Regions from separate parts of the Homo sapiens genome. Here regions 1, 3, 4 and 5 are each linked to region 2. Evidence: promoter capture Hi-C in 16 types of primary human blood cells and fetal thymus (Javierre and others, 2016). All regions are on one chromosome and are shown on one strand. The core of a region is centred on a gene start or on the middle of the fragment in contact, and the rest is flanking DNA. Distances in the headings are between cores, read along the strand shown.

The links. The method cuts DNA at HindIII sites, captures the fragments that hold promoters and counts their contacts. A CHiCAGO score of 5 or more calls a contact.
Region 1: a fragment that was not itself captured here is called in contact with the fragment with the promoter of RAB5C in region 2 in 2 of 17 cell types (fetal thymus and endothelial precursors); the score reaches 5.6 in fetal thymus.
Region 3: a contact is called between a fragment that was not itself captured here and the fragment with the promoter of RAB5C in region 2, in 2 of 17 cell types (erythroblasts and monocytes). The highest score is 5.6, in erythroblasts.
Region 4: a fragment that was not itself captured here is called in contact with the fragment with the promoter of RAB5C in region 2 in 1 of 17 cell types (activated CD4 T cells); the score reaches 5.9 in activated CD4 T cells.
Region 5: a contact is called between the fragment with the promoter of COASY here and the fragment with the promoter of RAB5C in region 2, in 2 of 17 cell types (neutrophils and naive CD4 T cells). The highest score is 7.4, in neutrophils.

The regions. Positions count from the first base shown.
Region 1 is chr17:42,518,766-42,522,515 of GRCh38, reverse strand. It overlaps ATP6V0A1 (ATPase H+ transporting V0 subunit a1), which reads right to left. Exons shown (of 22, transcript NM_001130021.3): 22 at 1-1,489. The coding sequence ends at 1,396. Among named protein-coding and RNA genes, the nearest start is that of MIR5010, 6.5 kb to the right of the region's middle. The HindIII fragment of the contact is 921 bases long and covers 1,541-2,461 here.
Region 2 is chr17:42,153,043-42,156,589 of GRCh38, reverse strand. It overlaps RAB5C (RAB5C, member RAS oncogene family), which reads left to right and starts at 1,601. Exons shown (of 6, transcript NM_004583.4): 1 at 1,601-1,697. It overlaps RAB5C-AS1 (RAB5C antisense RNA 1), which reads right to left and starts at 2,190. Exons shown (of 3, transcript NR_187282.1): 1 at 1,881-2,190; 2 at 1,482-1,591; 3 at 1-822. RefSeq lists enhancers at 1,333-1,442, 1,325-1,619, 1,529-2,149. The HindIII fragment of the contact is 7,588 bases long and covers 1-2,864 here.
Region 3 is chr17:41,867,648-41,871,302 of GRCh38, reverse strand. It overlaps ACLY (ATP citrate lyase), which reads left to right. Exons shown (of 29, transcript NM_001096.3): 26 at 1,716-1,829; 27 at 2,178-2,260; 28 at 2,518-2,594; 29 at 3,399-3,655. The coding sequence ends at 3,493. Among named protein-coding and RNA genes, the nearest start is that of KLHL11, 4.1 kb to the right of the region's middle. The HindIII fragment of the contact is 3,639 bases long and covers 42-3,655 here.
Region 4 is chr17:42,497,679-42,501,423 of GRCh38, reverse strand. ATP6V0A1 (ATPase H+ transporting V0 subunit a1) reads right to left here. Exons shown (of 22, transcript NM_001130021.3): 15 at 2,382-2,500; 16 at 501-717; 17 at 120-227. Among named protein-coding and RNA genes, the nearest start is that of MIR548AT, 4.8 kb to the right of the region's middle. The HindIII fragment of the contact is 9,207 bases long and covers 1-3,745 here.
Region 5 is chr17:42,560,375-42,563,704 of GRCh38, reverse strand. It overlaps COASY (Coenzyme A synthase), which reads right to left and starts at 1,557. Exons shown (of 9, transcript NM_025233.7): 1 at 383-1,557. The coding sequence starts at 1,082. RefSeq lists enhancers at 1,032-1,221, 1,232-1,481. The HindIII fragment of the contact is 14,901 bases long and covers 1-3,330 here.

The DNA of each region.
Region 1 (3,750 bases), core at 752-3,251, 370 kb before region 2:
GTTCCCTGAACTCTGCTTCAAACCCCACTGGAAACAGAGCAAAGATCATCACGAAAACCCAGGACACCAGGGCAGGGGGGCTGCACAAGGTCGGGTCAGGTCACAGTGGGCCAGCACACAGTGGCCCCGCCCAGGGCCAGCCCAGCCTGGGAGAGGGGATGAGGGCTCCAGGCAGCTCACTCAGAAAAGCCAGGGTAGGAGGAGGGCACCAGCCTGGCCCACTCAGGGAATTCTTTCTACCACTGAAAGCGGTGGGGATTAACTTAGCCAGGGCTGCCACGCCAGCACACGATTACAAGGTTCGGGGTGACAAGGAGGAAGCCCCTTGGCAGGACTGTGCAGCCCTCACAGCCACATGCACGGCAGCCCTGCCAATGGCTTCCAAACAGCAAACCATCAGTGACACTGACCTTCCCTGCCCAGGACACCCCTCCTGAGACCTGGGGCCAGTGTGGTGAGGAGGGGGCACTAGGGGCGGAGCCAGGCAGGCTGCAGGCAGAACCAAGAGGACCCCAGTCCCACACTGAAGACATCATGATTGGGGGTGGGGAAGATCTCAGGGTCTCCATCAGGGAAGAGCATCAGTCTGCACCCTCGGCCTGAGGGTGTGCTTGTGGGCAGGGCCCATGCAAGGCCTGGGAAGAAGCCAACCCCGAGAGAGGGAAGCCCTGTGCACTGCGGAGCAGCCAAGGCCTCTGTTCCAAGCATCCCGGCTGTGCTATGTAGTGCAGGGCATGAACGGGGAGAGAGGAAAGGATGGGAGTGCAGGGTGGGGTCAGAAAGGCGGTGTAGATATCCTATGACCCCTGGGGATGACAGGGAGAAGCCACTCATGATGGCCTAGTTGGGTCCAGCTGAATGCCAGGGGGGTGGGCAAAAGACGCAAATATCATCTTCCTGGACCCACCCCTGCTAATCCAAGAGTGGGACATGTTACCAGTGTCCCCTTCTAGGGAAGAATCTGTATTACTCCCCCCACTACTCCTGCTAGAAACTACGGTGGCAGATGCAGGGAACTCAAAGTCTAGATGTGAATGGCATGGGTGCTCCTTCCATCTACAATGCACGGGGAAGATGAAAGGGCTTTGGGATGGCGTGGGAATGCAGACTGGCTCACCACCAGGAGGTGGGAAGGGCTGTCTGGATGGATGGAGGCTAAGAGGGCAAGGCTGGTGCCCAGTGAGTATGAGTGACAGCCAGAAAATCACTACACTACACACAAAGCTAGGGGTGGTGGGAGACCCAAGGAGGACTATTCTATCTAAATGACTCACAGACAGGGTGACACGAATGAGCTGGTGCCCACAGATCACAACCAACAGGCAGAGAGGCACAGCTGATCACTGTGGAGGGAGGCGGGGAGGGTAGCATGGGGCACACGGCCCTCACAGGGACTCACTCTTCAAACTTCCCTTCCCGAATATGCTCGAAGGAGAAGGGTAAGAACTTGAAACCGGTCCCGCTGTAGAATTTATTCTGGAACTCAACCCTGGAGAAAGAGAAGAAGAAAGCTGTCATTCAATAGAAACTTTGTGAAGCTTTTTAGGACTTCACAGTTGGGCAGGAAAGATGCCCCGTGCCCACCTCACCCCGAGCCTCCCTTCCCTGGGGAAGCTAGAGAAAGCCCAGAGTGCAGAGATCCCACTTTTAAGGCCTGGGATCAAGAGTTCGACGCACGGAGGAAGGGATTTGCCCTCAGTTCCCAATCTTGCTCTGTCCTGCCGAGCAGTGTGTTTATGCACAACTCTCTGCAGAGAGGCATGTGCAAAAAAAGTTCAGTTACCTTGAGCCTAACATCGTTAATGAACAAGTGGCCCCCATCGCCCCCTCCTGGCAGGGGATCACACAGCCCACCTCTAAGGGAAGCCCCTCCAGAGACACTGGGCAAGCACCTCTGTTTGCTTGTTATTTTTCCTTGGGGGAGCAAAAGGGCGAGCTTGGAGTGAATGTTGAAGGCTTTCCATTTAAGGAAGGAAATTCCAAGGAAAGAGGGGGAGTTAGGAGGGGAAGTCTTCTCAAAGCAATGGCAAAAATATTCTCCAACCACAAAAACATCTGAGAAAGAATTCTTCTCTTGGGGACTAAAAAGAAAAAGCCTGAGCTCCCTTCCCAGCAGTTCAGCATCCATGCCTGATGGTCTCTGTGGGGCCCTTTCACTCTCAGGGAGGGTGGGAGGAAGACTGTCCCATAAGCAGAGCGAGGCTGCTTGGCTGTGCTTCCTCCTGCAAACTCACCCTGGACAGCTGCCCAGCAACCAAACCACACCAAATAAGGGCAGAAAAATGCATGATTCAGGGGATAAAAAGGCCAAGGAGAGCTGCCCTGAGGAATAGTTTCCACATGGTGCTGTGTGACCCTGGAGGCACCGGAGCCCCTATAAGAACAGGCAGGCGTGGGGGCTGGGGCAGGCTCCAGGTGACAGGTCACGTGCAGGGTGAGGGCTTTGAGGCGCTTTAAAGCTTCAGGAACCCTCTAGTTCCCTAACTCAGCTTTTACAAATGGAGATTCCTCCCTCCAAGCCAAGAAGGCAGGAATTAAGAGAACAGGGGCTGGGAGGTGGCTGGGGCCCAAAGGTTACAGACTGTTTGCCAGTGGCACTGGGAGTTCCTCAGAGGCCCCTTCACTGGGGTGCAGGCTGAGGAGCACCCCCTTGAAGAAGAGCGCAACCGAATTTTCTGAGTGGGAGTAAAAGCAGTCAGCTTTCTTCCCCACATCCCCACATTCCACAGGGGTGGGCCAAGGTCCTCCAGGAAAAACAGGACTCAGGAGGGGGAGGACACAGAGCTTCCAACTGACGTTAGCTGACGGTTCCCACCAGAGCAATTCCAAACCAGGACCTGGATTCACCCACGTCCCAACACCCCACCAAAACTACTTCTCCAAGTTCCAGCTACTGAGACCACCTCTGAGGGAACGCGGTGGGGCCTAGCAGTGGGTTCCTGCTTCTCACCCACTTGTGTTAGGTTTGAATTCTTCATGTTGAATAGACTGTGTTCCCATGTGGCAAGGGTTATTTCAGAACAGCTGAAACGAGATTTACATGTCCCCTTTTCATTCAACAATACATAGCCAGAGAGTGGACAAGTCACCTGAGGGTCCCAGGCCATTACCTAGGAGTGAATGTCAGCCTTGGTAGGGTATGCTGACCCCCGACTCCAGTGAGGTGTCCAGAACTCTGACCCCCACCCCCTCCTGGCTAATCACAAAACCATTCTAATCTTCAAACTGGGCAAATGGAGCAGCAGCTTTGTTTTCAGATGCCTGTGGGGGCACCGCCCTTTTCTTGGCACCCCTCCAGTCACCTTATCTACCCATGGGGGCCCAGCAAGGAGGAAGAGGGATATATGCCTGGGAGGGGCACATCAATTGTACTGTGTGAGCAGACAGGTGGCCTCCCTGACATACTGCCCAATACTGCCCCTCCCACCAGCTGCTGCTTTAGAGACTTAGAGCGGCCAGAACTGGGACATCTTGGGTCTATCTTGAGGTCAGCCTGATTTCACCTCCTTCCGTGGCCACCCTCACCCCAACCACCCAGCACAAAGCTGGAAAGCAATTTCCCTGCTAGTCTCCCCACTCTCTCCCGCTGAACTGGGGAAATGTGTGCTTCCTGAGAAAGTACAAACATGAAGTTCCCCAGGGCAAGGGGGGCCCCATCTGCCATCCTAGGTTCTTCCTTCTTTTTGGGCATCTCCACTGCTCTGCTCAGGGAGCCTCCAAAGTCTTGCCATGCCCCAAGACACTGAAATG
Region 2 (3,547 bases), core at 352-2,851:
GCCCACCTCCAGCCTTGGAAAGGTGGGCCTAGGGGACTACCCATCCCTCCTGTATAAGGAACTGTTCCAGAACTGGGTATGGCAAGGGGGCTGGGGGAAGAGCTTGTCACCAGCCAGAACCTGCTAGGAATCCCACTCTGCCCCATCCCCTCTGTCCTCCCAACAAGCCCTCTCTTCCCTCTTCCTTTTCACTTCTCATGAACACTGGCGCGGAAGTGGGGATTGTGTGTTATGGGTGTAAGAAAGAGAGACGCCCTGATGACCAGATGGAACTAGATGTGGGCACAGTTTTGTGGCAGGTTGTCCAAGACAGGTAAATTCTCCAGCTGAGGCTCCAGGATATGCCTGGTGTTGGCGTTATAGGCACAATGGCCACAGCTGTCTCCGGTGAGCTTTGATTCCACACAGGTTTTCAGTAGTGTCCCTTGAGGATGAGATGCAAAAGAAGAGGAGGTACTGGTTTGTGTTGAGAGGTAAGGGTGGGAGGAATCAGGAGCGGGCCCAGTCCATATTGAGAGGAGCAGAAAAAACAAATATTCCTGATCCATAGAGGGGGAGAGTGCAGAGTGGGGGTGGTTCTAGTCTTTATTTACGGATGGAGAGGGCCGAGGCAGAGGTTGTCCAGCTCTGTATTCCGCGTCAGAGAGAAGAGCTGACCCTGGCTAGGAGCAGGGGAAGGCAGAGGCAGAGATGGTCTTTGTGCCGGCCCCCGCACACACCAAGTAGGAGGTGGTGGCAGAAGCTCTCCCTTTGATCTCACCCAGCATCCTGCAGAGAACTCTTCCTGCAGCGCTTTCCTCACCTTCCCAATCACAGACGCCCCTGGCAATCGGGCGGACAGTGCAGACAAGGGCTTCTCCAGATCAGCGAGTTCACAGGACTGAGGCCTCGCGTGCATATTCATTCGCACCACGTTTTTTCTTTCCCAATTCTGCACACACAATCCTCTGCCTTCTTCCAACGCTCCACCACCCGCCTTCCCTCGGGGCGTCCGGAACCGGCGGTGACGCGGATGGCAGGGTTAGCCTTAAAAAGTTCCCGGCCGTAGGCTGGGCGCGGTGGCTCAGGCCTGTAATCTCAGCACTTTGAGAGGCCGAAGAGGGCGGATCACCTGAGGTCAGGAGTTCGAGACCAGCCTGGCCAACATGGCGAAACCCCCGTCTCTACTAAAAAATACAAAAATTAGTCGGGCGTGGTGGTGCGTGCCTATAATCCAGCTCCTCGGGAGGCTGAGGCAGGAGAATCGCTTGAACCCGGGAGGCAGAGGTTGCAGTGAGATCGCACCACTGCACTCCAGCCTGGGCGACAGAGTAAGACTCCGTCTCAAAAAAAAAAAAAAAGTTCCGGCCGGGCTCCGCCTCGCAGTCAGCCGGCTCCACCCTAAGCCCAAGTCCCAGGCAGCCACTGACTCCTCCCAGCGCTGCGAACTACAAGTCCCGCGATCCCTCGCGCGCTCCCTACCGCCACTCCCGCGTTCCTACCGGCGCCGCTGGGTAGGTCGGCCAAGAGTGCCTCCCATTGGTCTCCGCACTGTCAATCACCTGGGAGTATTGAGGGGCGGGGCGGAGGTGGAGATCCGGATCCGGAGCGGCTGAAAGGCGGAAGTGGAGGCCGGAGCCTGGGACACCGCCGGCGGGGAGAGAAGCGGATCCCGTCCGAGCCCCGGCCCCAAGTAACGCCGCCGCCCCGGAGCCGCCGTGAGTATGCTTGTCCCAGGACCTGGTGTCTCGCCTGCGTTGAAGCATCTCCAGGGCAGCCCTTCCTCCCGCCCAGCCCCAGTTTAGGGGGATACTGACCCCTCCCCCGACCCGTAGCCCCCTCTTGAGGGGCTCCCCAGGCGTCGGGCCATAGGAGGTGGGGAGCTTCTTTCCTTAGCTTACCTGCCTTTGGTGAGCCTTAAGGAAACCGCTATGACTGTCCTCTGGCCTGTCCATTCTAGTTGTGGGAGAGAGGTACCCTAAGTTCCGCTCCCCCTGCTTCCAGAATCGGAGGATCTTTGCTAGGTGTGAAGGAACCTGTCCCTCTTCTCTTTTAGAAGTGACAGGGAGTGCTGTCTGTCGCCGTTTTCCTTCCTCCTGTCCCACAAAACCAGTTGTCCCCTCTAGCCCTAGAGGAATATCTCGATTTCCTTTGGGGGAGGGGGGTCGTCTGGGTGAGACCGTTCCACACGCACAGAAGTGTGTGTGCGCTCCCGCAACTCCTTACTTCCTCTCTTTCCTCAAGCCAGAGAACCAACCAGGACCTCAGCTGAGTTTAAAGTCACTTACTAGAAATGAGCTGTTTTCCTGTTTTGCCCCTTCTGTCTCCCAGCCCTGTCCTCTAGTTATGTTGTTCTTTGAGTGTCTCTCTCTTTCTGCCTCTGAAGAATTTAGCTGAGGTTTGCTCAATCCTAGCTACAGATCACAGATCAGGGTGGATGTGCCCATTCATTATCTTCTTTCCCCTCCCCCCTTGCTCCAGGCTCAGCTCTGTCCTCCCAGAGCACGTGAGTGGTTTCCCAGCCGCCTCAAAGGGACTGCTTTTCTTGGGACTGCTGTCCGTGTGTCTATAGGGAGGAGAATAAGACCCAAAATGAGGAGTCTGGAATTGAAGGGCCATCTCTTTCCCACTCCCAAACACACACACATACACCTCCCTGAGCAACAGGTCCACACCACGCCAGGGTCTGTCTGCAATCCCTTCAGGGCTTGGACTTATTACTGAGGACTAAGTCAAGATCACAATGGCAGTTCTGGATTTTTAATTGTAGCCTGAGGAATTCCGATACATGCCAGAAAGTGCAGGTTCCCTCAACCATATTGACTGATCCTTGTCTGTTGCTTGGGGCTTAGGTGTGTGAAATAGCTGCTGTCTCAGACCAAGCTTTGTTATGTGGCCAAAGTACAGGCCGGAGACTGTACCTTAACGAGGAGTAGCCTGGCTCTGAGGCCATGACTGACCCTTGCTATCTACAGTGGAGGAAGGGACGGAAAGCCGTGCAGTTTGTGGGAACTTCTGTAGCTCTTCAGTGTTCTGGGCTACCTTTACCACCCTCGCTTGCCACTTAAAAGTGCTGTGTTTTTTGGCCTTGAGGTGTGTTTGAGGGCTTCTGGACAGTGGCTAGTATCTGATTCCTACAGTCTTTTGAGTAGAGCTAGGATGTACTTTCTTCACTTTTTTGTTTGTTTGTTTTTGAGATGGAGTCTTGCTCTGTCGCCCAGGCTGGAGTGCAGTGGCGTGATCTTGGCTCACTGCAACCTCTGCCTCCTGGGTTCAAGCAGTTCTCTTGCCTCAGCCTCCTGAGTAGCTGGGATTAACAGGCGCCTGCCACCACACCCGGCTAATTTTTGTATTTTTAGTAGAGATGGGGTTTCGCCATGTTGGCCGGGCTGGTCTCGAACTCCTGACTTCAGGTGATCCACCCGCCTCAGCCTCCCAAAGTGCTGAGATTACAGGTGTGAACCACCGTGCCCGGCCTACTTATTTCACTTTTTATCGGACAACAGAAGAAGCCTTCCTTATTAGGGTCAACAGCTGGATCACAGGCTCTGTATCTGTGTGGGTTCCT
Region 3 (3,655 bases), core at 612-3,111, 290 kb after region 2:
TTGGGAGAATACCTAAGCTTTCAACTCCAACATACAAAGCTTTGGATGTGTTGACAGATGCCAAATACAAAGCAGCTATTTTTTCCATGTTATAATACAGATTGCCCTTAACAGTTTTTCTGTCGTTCGCTTGCAGTATGGAAATAGCAGTTGAAATGAGATGGAAAACTTGGTAACTTTGGTTTCCCAAATGAATCTTATGGGTAAAAGGGCCAAGGTCAGGTTGAGGGGACATATTGGTCACCTTCGGCTAGATAATACCTCATTCCGCAGTAACAGACAACTCCAAAAATCTCAGTGGCTTACCACAGCAAAGGTTTATGTCTCATTCACACTACATCCACTGAGGGTTTGCTGTGCCTGTTCTCTGCCATCTGTGCCGAAAGAACAGCCGCCGTCTGGGATGTGCTGGCCTCACGTCAGCAGGATAACAGCAATGGCAGGACCACGTGCAGGCTCTTAAAGCCTTACATGATTCACCTTCACTCACATTTCATTGGCCACCGCAAGTCAAGTGGTTATTTGTGACATCACTGGGGCAGGAAGAGTGACAATATCAAGGCATATCTGATTGGGAGAGACCAGTGGGAAAGGACAGTAAATATTTGAAACAGTTTATATAGTCTCACACAGGGCCGGTCATTTCTATGTCCTTATATTGTGCTTTGGTTAGAAACCAAAGAGCAAGAGATGAGGTCACTGGCAGCTGCTCAGGGCCTTATGGGGACAGCTCCTTAGCAGATCCCTTTACCCTGGGCTCCTTGGCTCTGTAGCTCCAGCAACCTCATTTATTTGGTCACTCCACTGGCCTAGGTGGGGAGTATTAACATGAAGGTCATGCATGTGATTCAGGACACCACCTTCTAGGCAGCCAAACACTTGGCCATCTCAGGTGATACCCAGAGGTTGCTTGATGAGCAAGGACCAGCTCAGAACCAAGCAGGGAAGGTGGGTGGCTCTGAGGGACATTCCATCCAGGACTTGCTTGACTTTGCTCAGCCAGCCCCAGCTCCTGAGCATATAACAACATGCCTATGTACAGCACAGAGCCTCTTTCTAAGATAATGCTAGACTTGCACTCCACACTCACTCATTCACTCTTTGAGCTCCCCGCTTTCTAGAGGATGTACTGACCCAGCTATCTCTTTTGCTGAGGGCTGAAGTTGCTTTGGTATTCGATTTGGTATGTCCCTAGATCATCTTCCTCCCCAACTGACAGGTGGTTAATTTCATTCACAGCAGGTCTAGAGTTTTCCCTAAAATTTTGGGAATACTTTGCCTCCCCACACTAAACACGTGTTTGTTTAGTGTTGAACTTTGTCACAGCTTGAGTAGGCACAGAGCTGGCGGGGGCATGGCTGGAGGCTGGAACCTAAGACTCTTGAGTTGGAGAGTGGTTAACTTTCAGACCTCTGCTGCTCAACACTGTAGGACCTGGCCAGTTCCCTGAACATCTCAGGGCTCAGTTTCTTCTTTGCAACTTAAAAGTGAGAACCTACCAAGGTTGTTTTGTGTCCCAATTGAGATATGAGAGGACTTCAAAAGCCAGCCTCATGGCATTAGCACAATTGGTGCCACATGGAATGGTACACGTGGGCCAGGTTCCTGAATCGCCGCTGGGATATGTCCAGTTCTACCTACCTGTAACACAAGTATGAACAAACACATCCCAGCAGTGTGTGAGTGTTCCTCTGTACCGTTGGGTTCATTTCTAGATAAACAACCCAGACATGCGAGTGCAGATCCTCAAAGATTACGTCAGGCAGCACTTCCCTGCCACTCCTCTGCTCGATTATGCACTGGAAGTAGAGAAGATTACCACCTCGAAGGTAACAAAGAAAAAACTTCCTAATTCCCTCACGTTGGACAAGTTTATTGGAGGAAACAGGAGCCACGTTACATTTTGATTATGCAGCTAAAAGCAAACCTAGTTTTCTAGAAATGTTATTTTTGTTTCATAACTAAATTTAACAGACATGCACTAAATGTCAACTAGGTGTTGGGTACTTTGCTAGATGCTGGGAATTGAACTGAGTCAGACACAGTGTCGACCAGTGGGGCTGGTAGAAGGTTTTTAAATGATGGTCACAATTCGTAGTAATAGTAGTGACAGTGGAAAATTATGAAGAAAAAATGAGAAATAATGATAAATGCTTTGAATTTTTTTGCCTTCCCAGAAGCCAAATCTTATCCTGAATGTAGATGGTCTCATCGGAGTCGCATTTGTAGACATGCTTAGAAACTGTGGGTCCTTTACTCGGTGAGCATTGTAGCTGTTTTCTTCTTCATTACGTTTGTTGATTTTTGTTGTTTCCTCCAAACTATAAAAGTAATGCATACTCATAATAGAATATTTGAAAAATAAGGAGAGGTATAAAGAAGAAAACAAAAATTGCCTGTAATGCTACCACCCAGAGCACCCCTTTTCTTCTCATTCTTGGGCAGTAGTAGTACTGTCTGTGGGGAGGAGGGCAGTCACGTGAGCCTTTTAAAACTACAAGTTGATGTGTGTTGCAGGGAGGAAGCTGATGAATATATTGACATTGGAGCCCTCAATGGCATCTTTGTGCTGGGAAGGAGTATGGGGTTCATTGGTGAGTCCATTCGTTGTTGTTTTAAGTGTTTTTTTTTAAACCCCACGGTTCAGCTACACCACTTACTCATGGGGTTGAGTTTCTTTTTCTTTCTTTTTTTTTTTTTTTAATTTTCTTTTTGTGGTTCAGTTTCTACAGAAGAAATGTCATATCCTCTTAATCATTGTTCTTAATCTTTCCTTTCTTACTTTAACCTTTCCCCTTATCTTTATCATTGTTCCTTTGTTCTTAGAAATGATTGCTAGCCCAGGAAAATTTTTTTTTTTTTTTTTGAGACTGAGTCTTGCTCTGTCACCAGGCTGGAGTGCAGTGGCGCGGTCTCAGCTCACTGCAACCTCTGCCTCCCGGGTTCAAGCGATTCTCCTGCCTCAGCCTCCCAAGCAGCTGGGACTACAGGCGCATGCCACCACGCCTGGCTAATTTTTTGTATTTTTAGTAGAGACGGGGTTTCACCATGTTAGCCAGGATGGTCTCGATCTCCCAACCTCGTGATCTGCCCACCTCGGCCTCCCAAAGTGCTGGGATTACAGGCGTGAACCACCGTGCCCGGCCTATTTTTATTATTTATTTTATTTTATTTTTTCCCTTTAAAATTTTGTTTTAATTTAAAGGAAAATAGAATCAGATCCAGCAGCTCCCTTGTACAAAGTCCGCCTCATCTACCTATACAGTGGATTTGGACTAAACTTCCCACTGCTTTGTGTCTACTTTTTTTGTGTGTTAGAAAGATTTCCCTTCCTTAGCCTCTTCCTCTCACCAGGCTTATGAAGCTCTAATAAAAAAGATGTGTTTGCTTCATTTTAGGACACTATCTTGATCAGAAGAGGCTGAAGCAGGGGCTGTATCGTCATCCGTGGGATGATATTTCATATGTTCTTCCGGAACACATGAGCATGTAACAGAGCCAGGAACCCTACTGCAGTAAACTGAAGACAAGATCTCTTCCCCCAAGAAAAAGTGTACAGACAGCTGGCAGTGGAGCCTGCTTTATTTAGCAGGGGCCTGGAATGTAAACAGCCACTGGGGTACAGGCACCGAAGACCAACATCCACAGGCTAACA
Region 4 (3,745 bases), core at 355-2,854, 340 kb before region 2:
AAAAGAAAAAGAAAAAGAATATATAGATTTGTGCACAATTAATTATATCCACTGGGGAATTGCCTTGATCTTGAACAAAACAAAAGTCTAGTAACTTTTAGCAATAGAAATACACCTACCAAATGCTTTCTCCTCAAATACTGACGGCGAAGGACCAATGGTTTAAACAGCAGCATCCAAGGTACACACAGTAGTGCAACCACTACCAGGAAACACTGAATTCCTTTCTGCAGAGTAAGAAGAAGGACAAGGTACATCATATAAAAGTCTACCGATCACATACGCAGTTTCCAAATATGGCACAAATTTCCCCCAACAGTACTTTCTTACTAATCTATGAATAACACTATCCAATTTCTCAAAATAATTATCACATTTTGTGGCAAAGCCCTAGAATTGTCCCATAGAAGGGCAGTTATAAATTTTTTAGGGTCAGAGAAACATCTGGCTTCCTGATCAAGTATAATCATCTCAGACAGTCTGCCTCTGGGCTGACGTACCTGTCCAGAATACAACATTGAATAACCAGACTCTGGGTAGGAAAAGAGGAACATGTTTATGAAATGGATCAGAAGGCTTGGTGCATTCTCAGAGGTATGAGCATCATAGGCCGTCCACTTGTAAAAAATAAGGATAACCAAATAGCCAAACAAAGAGGTCATGAAGATTATTTCAGGAATAAATCCAAAGTAGATATTCAGGGGCTTCTTGAAATAGCTAAAAAGGAGAGAGAAAAAAATGTTAAGGGTAAATGGGCCTAGGGCCACTCCTACACTGAATGGAGTATTCACTAGATTTTTCTACTTAATACCCCCTCAATTCTGTCTTTATCACTTTAAGCAGCAGCAACCAGAAGCTGGAGACAACAGAGACAATGCAGGATTAACTATCACGGTCAAACTTTTGAACCTTGGTTTTGTTTTGCTGTTGCTTTTTCTTTTTTGAGACAGGGTCTCACTCTGCTACCCAGCCTGGAGTACAGTGGTGCAATATTGGCTCACCGCAGTCTTAACCTCCCTGGGCTTAGGCAATCCTCTTACCTCAGCCTCTCGAGTAGCTGGGACTACAGGCATGCGCCACCACACCCAGCTAATTTTTACATTTTTTTGTAGAGATGGGGTTTTGCCATGTTGCCCAGACTGGTCTTGAACTCCTGACATCAGGTGATCTGCCCGCCTTGGCCTCCCAAAGTGCAGGATGACAGATGTGAGCCATTGTGCCAGGCCTTAAACTTTTGAACCTTGAACGGCTCCAATACCATCCCCACCATTCTCTCCATGAGAAAGAGAATGGAAAAATCTAGTACATTTTGAGACCACAGTTCATAACTTTTTTTTTTTTTTTTTTTTGTAGAGATGGGGTCTTTTGCCGTGTTACCCAGGCTTGTCTTGAACTCTTGGGCTCAAGTGATCCGCCTGCCTTGGCCTCCCAAAGTGCTGGCATTACAGGTGTGAGCCCCCACACCCAGTCCACAGCTAATAATTTTATGTGAGTTGCACATCAAGGAAAAAAAGAGACCTCACTTATTTTGATGAAAATTGCTCAAGTTTTTTTCAAGGATCTTTACTGGAACAGTAAATTGTTAAAGGACTAATATTAAGTCTAATTTAAGACCATCAACATTTTTTTTTTTTTTGAGATGGAGTCTTGCTCTGTCACCCCGACTGGAGTGCAGTGGTGTTATCTTGGTTTACTGCAACCTCTGCCTCCTGGGTTCAAGCAATTCTCCTGCCTCAGCCACCAGAGTAGCTGGGATTACAGGTGCACGCCACCACACCCGGCTAATTTTTTGTATTTTTAGTAGAGACGGAGTTTCACCATGTGGGCCAGGCTGGTCTTGAACTCCTGACCTCAAGTGATCTGCCCGCCTCATCTTCCCAAAGTGCTGGATTACAAGTGTAAGCCACTGCACCCGGCCAGACCATGAAATTTATTTATTTATTTATTTTTTTTGAGGCAGAGTCTCACTCTGTCGCTCAGGCTGGAGTGCAGTGGTGCCATCTTGTCTCACTGCGACCTCTGCCTCCCAGGTTCAAGCAATTCTCCTGCCTCAGCCTCCCGAATAGCTGGGAATATAGGCGCGTGCCACTACACCTGGCTGATTTTTGTATTTTTAGTAGAGACGGGGTTTCATCGTGTTGGCCAGGCTGGTTTCGAACTCCTGACCTCAGGTGATCCACCGGCCTTGGCCTCCCAAAGTACTGGGATTACAGGCATGATCCACCGCGCCTGGCCACACCATTAAATTTTTAGAAAAGCACTTCTATAATGTAGAATGAGGTTCTGAGTTATTAATCCCTCCCCAAAGATGTCATGATTTCTTTACACAAAAGCATTCTCTAAACTATGCACATTCTTATGACAGAAATGGAACAACTCACATATGGTTGAACAGACTCAGGCTGACTCCAAACAGCATATGGATGATACCAAGGATAACAGACATCTTCATCTTAAAGGAGTTCAAGAACGTCAGTTTATTGGTAGCAATGTTCCAAATCTGTCATAACCCGAGAAAACAAATAGGTATTATAAAGAATTCTCAAAGGGAAAAATATTCCTCTGTTTAAAAAACAATTTTTATTTATTTATTTATTTAGAGACGAGTCTCGCTCTGTCACCCAGGCTGGAGTGCAGTGGCGTGATCTCAGCTCACTGCAAGCTCTGCCTTCCGGGTTCACGCCATTCTCCTGCCTCAGCCTCCCAAGTAGCTGGGACTACAGGTGCCTGCCACCACGCCCAGCTATTTTTTTGTATTTTTAGTAGAGACAGGGTTTCACCGTGTTAGCCAGGATGGTCTCGATTCATGACCTCGTGATTCGCCCGCCTCAGCCTCCCAAAGTGCTGGGATTACAGGCGTGAGCCACCGCGCCCGGTCGACAATTTTTATTTATTAATCAATATTATTTATTATGGAAAATTCTAAACAGATACTTAAGCAGACAGGATGGTACAACAAACTCCCAGGCACCTATCACTCTGCTTCGACAAAATTTTTTTTTTTAATCTTGCTTTTGAGGAGAATGCTTCAAAAATTAACATCACCTTATAGTCATGAAAAAAGATTACTGCCACTCACTCATCTCCACATTACTAAAAAGTCCAGATATCATGTCATTTTACCTGTAAATATTTCAGTGTGGATGTCTAAAAGGAAAAGACTTATTTATTTATTTATTTATTTATTGAGATGGAATTTCGCTCTTTTTGCCCAGGATGGAGTGCAGTGTTCATGATCTCGCTGACTGCAACTTCCACCTCCTGCCTTGCCTCAGCCTCCCAGGTAGCTGGGATTACAGGCACAGGCCACGATGCCCAGCTAATTTTGTATTTTTAGTAGAGATGGGGTTTCACCATGTTGGCCAGGCTGGTCTCAAACTCCTGACCTCAGGTCTGGCCTGAGGCTTGCCTCGGCCTCCCAAACTGCTTGGATTACAGGCTTGAGTCACTGCGCCCGGCCAGTAAGGCTTTTTTTTTTTTTCTTTTTTTTTTGAGATGAACTCTCGCTCTGTCACCCAGGCTGGAGTGCAGTGGTGAAATCTCGGCCTATTGCAAGGTGGGGTTTTCACCATGTTAGCCAGGAAGGTCTCGATCTCTTGACCTCATGATCCGCCCGCCTTGGCCTCCCAAATTGCTGGGATTACAGGCGTGAGCCACCGCGCCCGGCCAGGACTTATTTTTAAAACATGACCACAATATTGTCATCACACGTAAATGCATTAACAATGATTTCTTTTTTTTTTTT
Region 5 (3,330 bases), core at 308-2,807, 410 kb before region 2:
GGGCATCAGAGGCAGATGGAAAATTCCAAGACCCATGCCATGCTTGAGTTTCCTCCTCCTGTCTGTGGCACTGCTACCTGCAGCTCACTCACCCATTCATTCCCAGTGTCTCATTAGGGTGTATCACCTGGAAAACTTGCTAAAATGCAGATCCCTTTGCTTCACATTTGGGGTATTCTGATTGAGTGGTGACTGGACCACATGCTGAGAAAGCTGTTCATTTGACAAAATGGCCTTAGCACCAATTGAGTGTCAACCACTGTGACATTTGGGAAGGGTGGGAAGTAATGAATGGCCCTACCCTTCCTTGATCTCGGCATAAGGGTCGGGGGTGGGGAGATTTGGGGATCCTCCACCCTAGTCCAGGGTCCCTCTTACTCACTCTTCAACAGATCTTTGTCTGCTACTCCCACCACAAGCTGCTCCTGGGCCAGGATGCACGCGACACTGAGCAACACCTTGTGGGCGTTGTGCAGGCGGTCAAACGTGCCACCGACAGCGCCACGGTAGTAGCCACGCACCGGCTGCTTTGGAGACCCGGCCACGGGGGAAGCTGGCCTGATCGTGGAGGGTAAGGGGACATCCAGGGGCTCCACGGGCACTTCTCCTATCCCATAATCGGAGTATAGCAGCACCGAGGCCAGTCGCGGACAACAGCTGTAACAGCTGGTGGCGTAACGCACTAGCTGCTGTTTGACCGGGTTGTACTGGCTTCCATCCAGGGTCTGGAAATCTGTCAACACGACTTCTGGCGGGTGGGCGAGATTCTGGACTGAGGTGGGCAGGGGAGGGAGAAAGGTGCTCTTGGTTCGGATATTGGTCAGTAGGATTCTGACGTCCAAGTGCCTGTGGACGTCGGCGCCAGCATAGAGGTGCGTGATGAAATCAAGAACCTCAAACGTGGCCTGCACGGGGCTGGACTGGGGCTGAGCCGGGCCCTCCAGGCTCATGCCCGGCTGCAGGTGAACATAGAGTGTGTGATTCACCAGCCGGGCCGCCGAGGTCAGGATGGAGGCCAGGCGAGGGGCTAGGGAGGCCAGCGGCGTCGTCAGCACCAGGAGACCCGACCGGAATACGGCCATGCTGCCCAGGCCTGCGGACAGTCAGGGAGACGAGGCGACGGTGACTGAAGGGCCTGCGGCCGAGGCAGAGGCCTGTATGGGACCTTGGACCCCAGAGAAGGAGGCCTGGAGCAGGGACGGGGTTTCAGTGCTGACCGACAGGAGCCGGGGGAGGGGACGGGGCCTGGTAGACGGCGCCTCGGGGCTGTGCTCTAAGCCTTGGTGTCCTCATTTCTCAGACGGGGCGGTGACTTCGCTGAACTGAGTCGAAATCCTGGGAGGGGGAAACTGGACAGGAACCCTTGTCACAGGGCTGGGGATCCAAAAATCCTGGGCCCTCTTGCTAAGCTGCACCAGGGTCTTCAAGGAATCGAAGAGGGAGGCTAAAGGGGGACGCTAAAGCTCACGTCGGCCCCCTACTCACTGAAACCTCAAGGCTTGGGTTCCACTTGCACCACCGCGGAGGCTTCCCTGGCTGCAACCCGGAAGCACTAACGGAGAAACCGCAACTCGGAACTACGGAAACGGAGGAAGGTCAAACGTCTCGACTTCGCTTCAGCGCGGGATTCTCGCGAGATTTCCAGTGGCATGGGCTGTGTCCTGCTGATGGGGTGGGGCTGATCCCGAAGGCTCTGGGAGTGGGTGAAGCCTTGATGCCGATCGGACCCCCGCTGGGACCGGGCGGAGAAAGGCAAGGCAGGTTTCAAAGCCCATTTCACAGATTCCCTTCTGGCCTGATGAGGAGAGATTAGTTTCAGCCAGGCCACCCAAGAGGCATCGGCAAAGCCAGAACTAACACCCAGATTTCCTTCATTCCAGGGACAGAGGTGGGGAATCACAGGGCTGCGCTGTATTAGCCCTCCTAGTACCCTCTCAGTCCGAGGATTCTCACATGGGAGGCTACTGGACAGGTCTGTCCACGTACCCATTTCACAGATGGAAAAACTGAGGCCTTGTGTGTACCTGGCTGCTGTAGGAGGCTCTCGCACCACCCAGATCCTCTGATGCGCTTGTTTGCGGGGTCTCTGTGGACAGGAGAAAAAGGCAAAGGCTGATTGGGCGCGGTGGCTCACGCCTGTAATCCCAGCACTTTGGGATGCCGAGGTGGGCAGAGCATCTGAGGTCGGGAGTTCGAGACCAACCTGACCAATATGGAGAAACCTTGTCTCTACTAAAAATACAAAATTAGACGAGCGTGGTGGCGCATGGCTGTAATCCCAGCTACTCAGGAGGCTGAGGCAGGAGAATCGCCTGAACCCGTGGGCGGAGGTCGCGGTGAGCCAAGATTGTGCCATTGCACTCCAACCTGGGCAACAAGAGCGAAACTCCCGGCCGGGCGCGGTGGCTGACGCCTGTAATCCCAGCACTTTGGGAGGCCGAGGCGGGCGGATCACGAGGTCAGGAGATCGAGACCATCCTGGCTAACACGGTGAAACCCCGTCTCTACTAAAAATACAAAAAAAAATTAGCCGGGCATGGTGGCAGACGCCTGTAGTCCCAGCTACTCGGGAGGCTGAGGCAGGAGAATGGCGTGAACCCGGGAGGAAGAGCTTGCAGTGAGCCGAGATCGCACCACTACACTCCAGCCTGGGTGACAGAGTGAGACTCCGTCTCAAAAAAAAAAAAAAAAAAAAAAAAGCGAAACTCCCTCTGGAAAAAAAAAAAGAAAAAAGAAAAAGGCAAAGGCTGGATACCTAGTGTGGGAGATTTACTGCGAAGCTAATGGGCGCTTGAAAGGCTGAGTGTGGAGGGGAAGCCAGGTTGCTATTAGAATACATCTCAGGTAAGTTGTGCATGGAGATCAAAAGGGAGAGAAGCCAGTCTCCAAGATTCCAGTAATGTGCCGTGGTATCCGAAACTTAAAAAAAAAAACAAAACTCACTTTTATATGTAATTTTGTGTTTATCTTTTGTATTCTTGAAGACGGTCTCCAAAAGCAAATAAGCCCCCAGCCCCACAAAACCTGGGCTTATGATGGAGAAAAGGAGATGCTATTTTAGATAAGGTGATTCAGGAAAACAGCAAAGACCTGGAGGAAGAGATACAGTCAAGGAGGGAAGAGTTGTAGAGCCACAAAGGTATTAAGGGACCAGGCTTCTCACAGGAGACATGTTAGATTTAAAGATAGGGTCTGATTTGAAGACACAAACAGCAAAGGCTGCCAGAGAATGTCCCAAGACATCTGGACACACAGTCTGACACACCACATACAGAGTCATTTTTATTGAGTAAATGTGTATTTTACTGCCTCCCACAGGGATGGACCAGT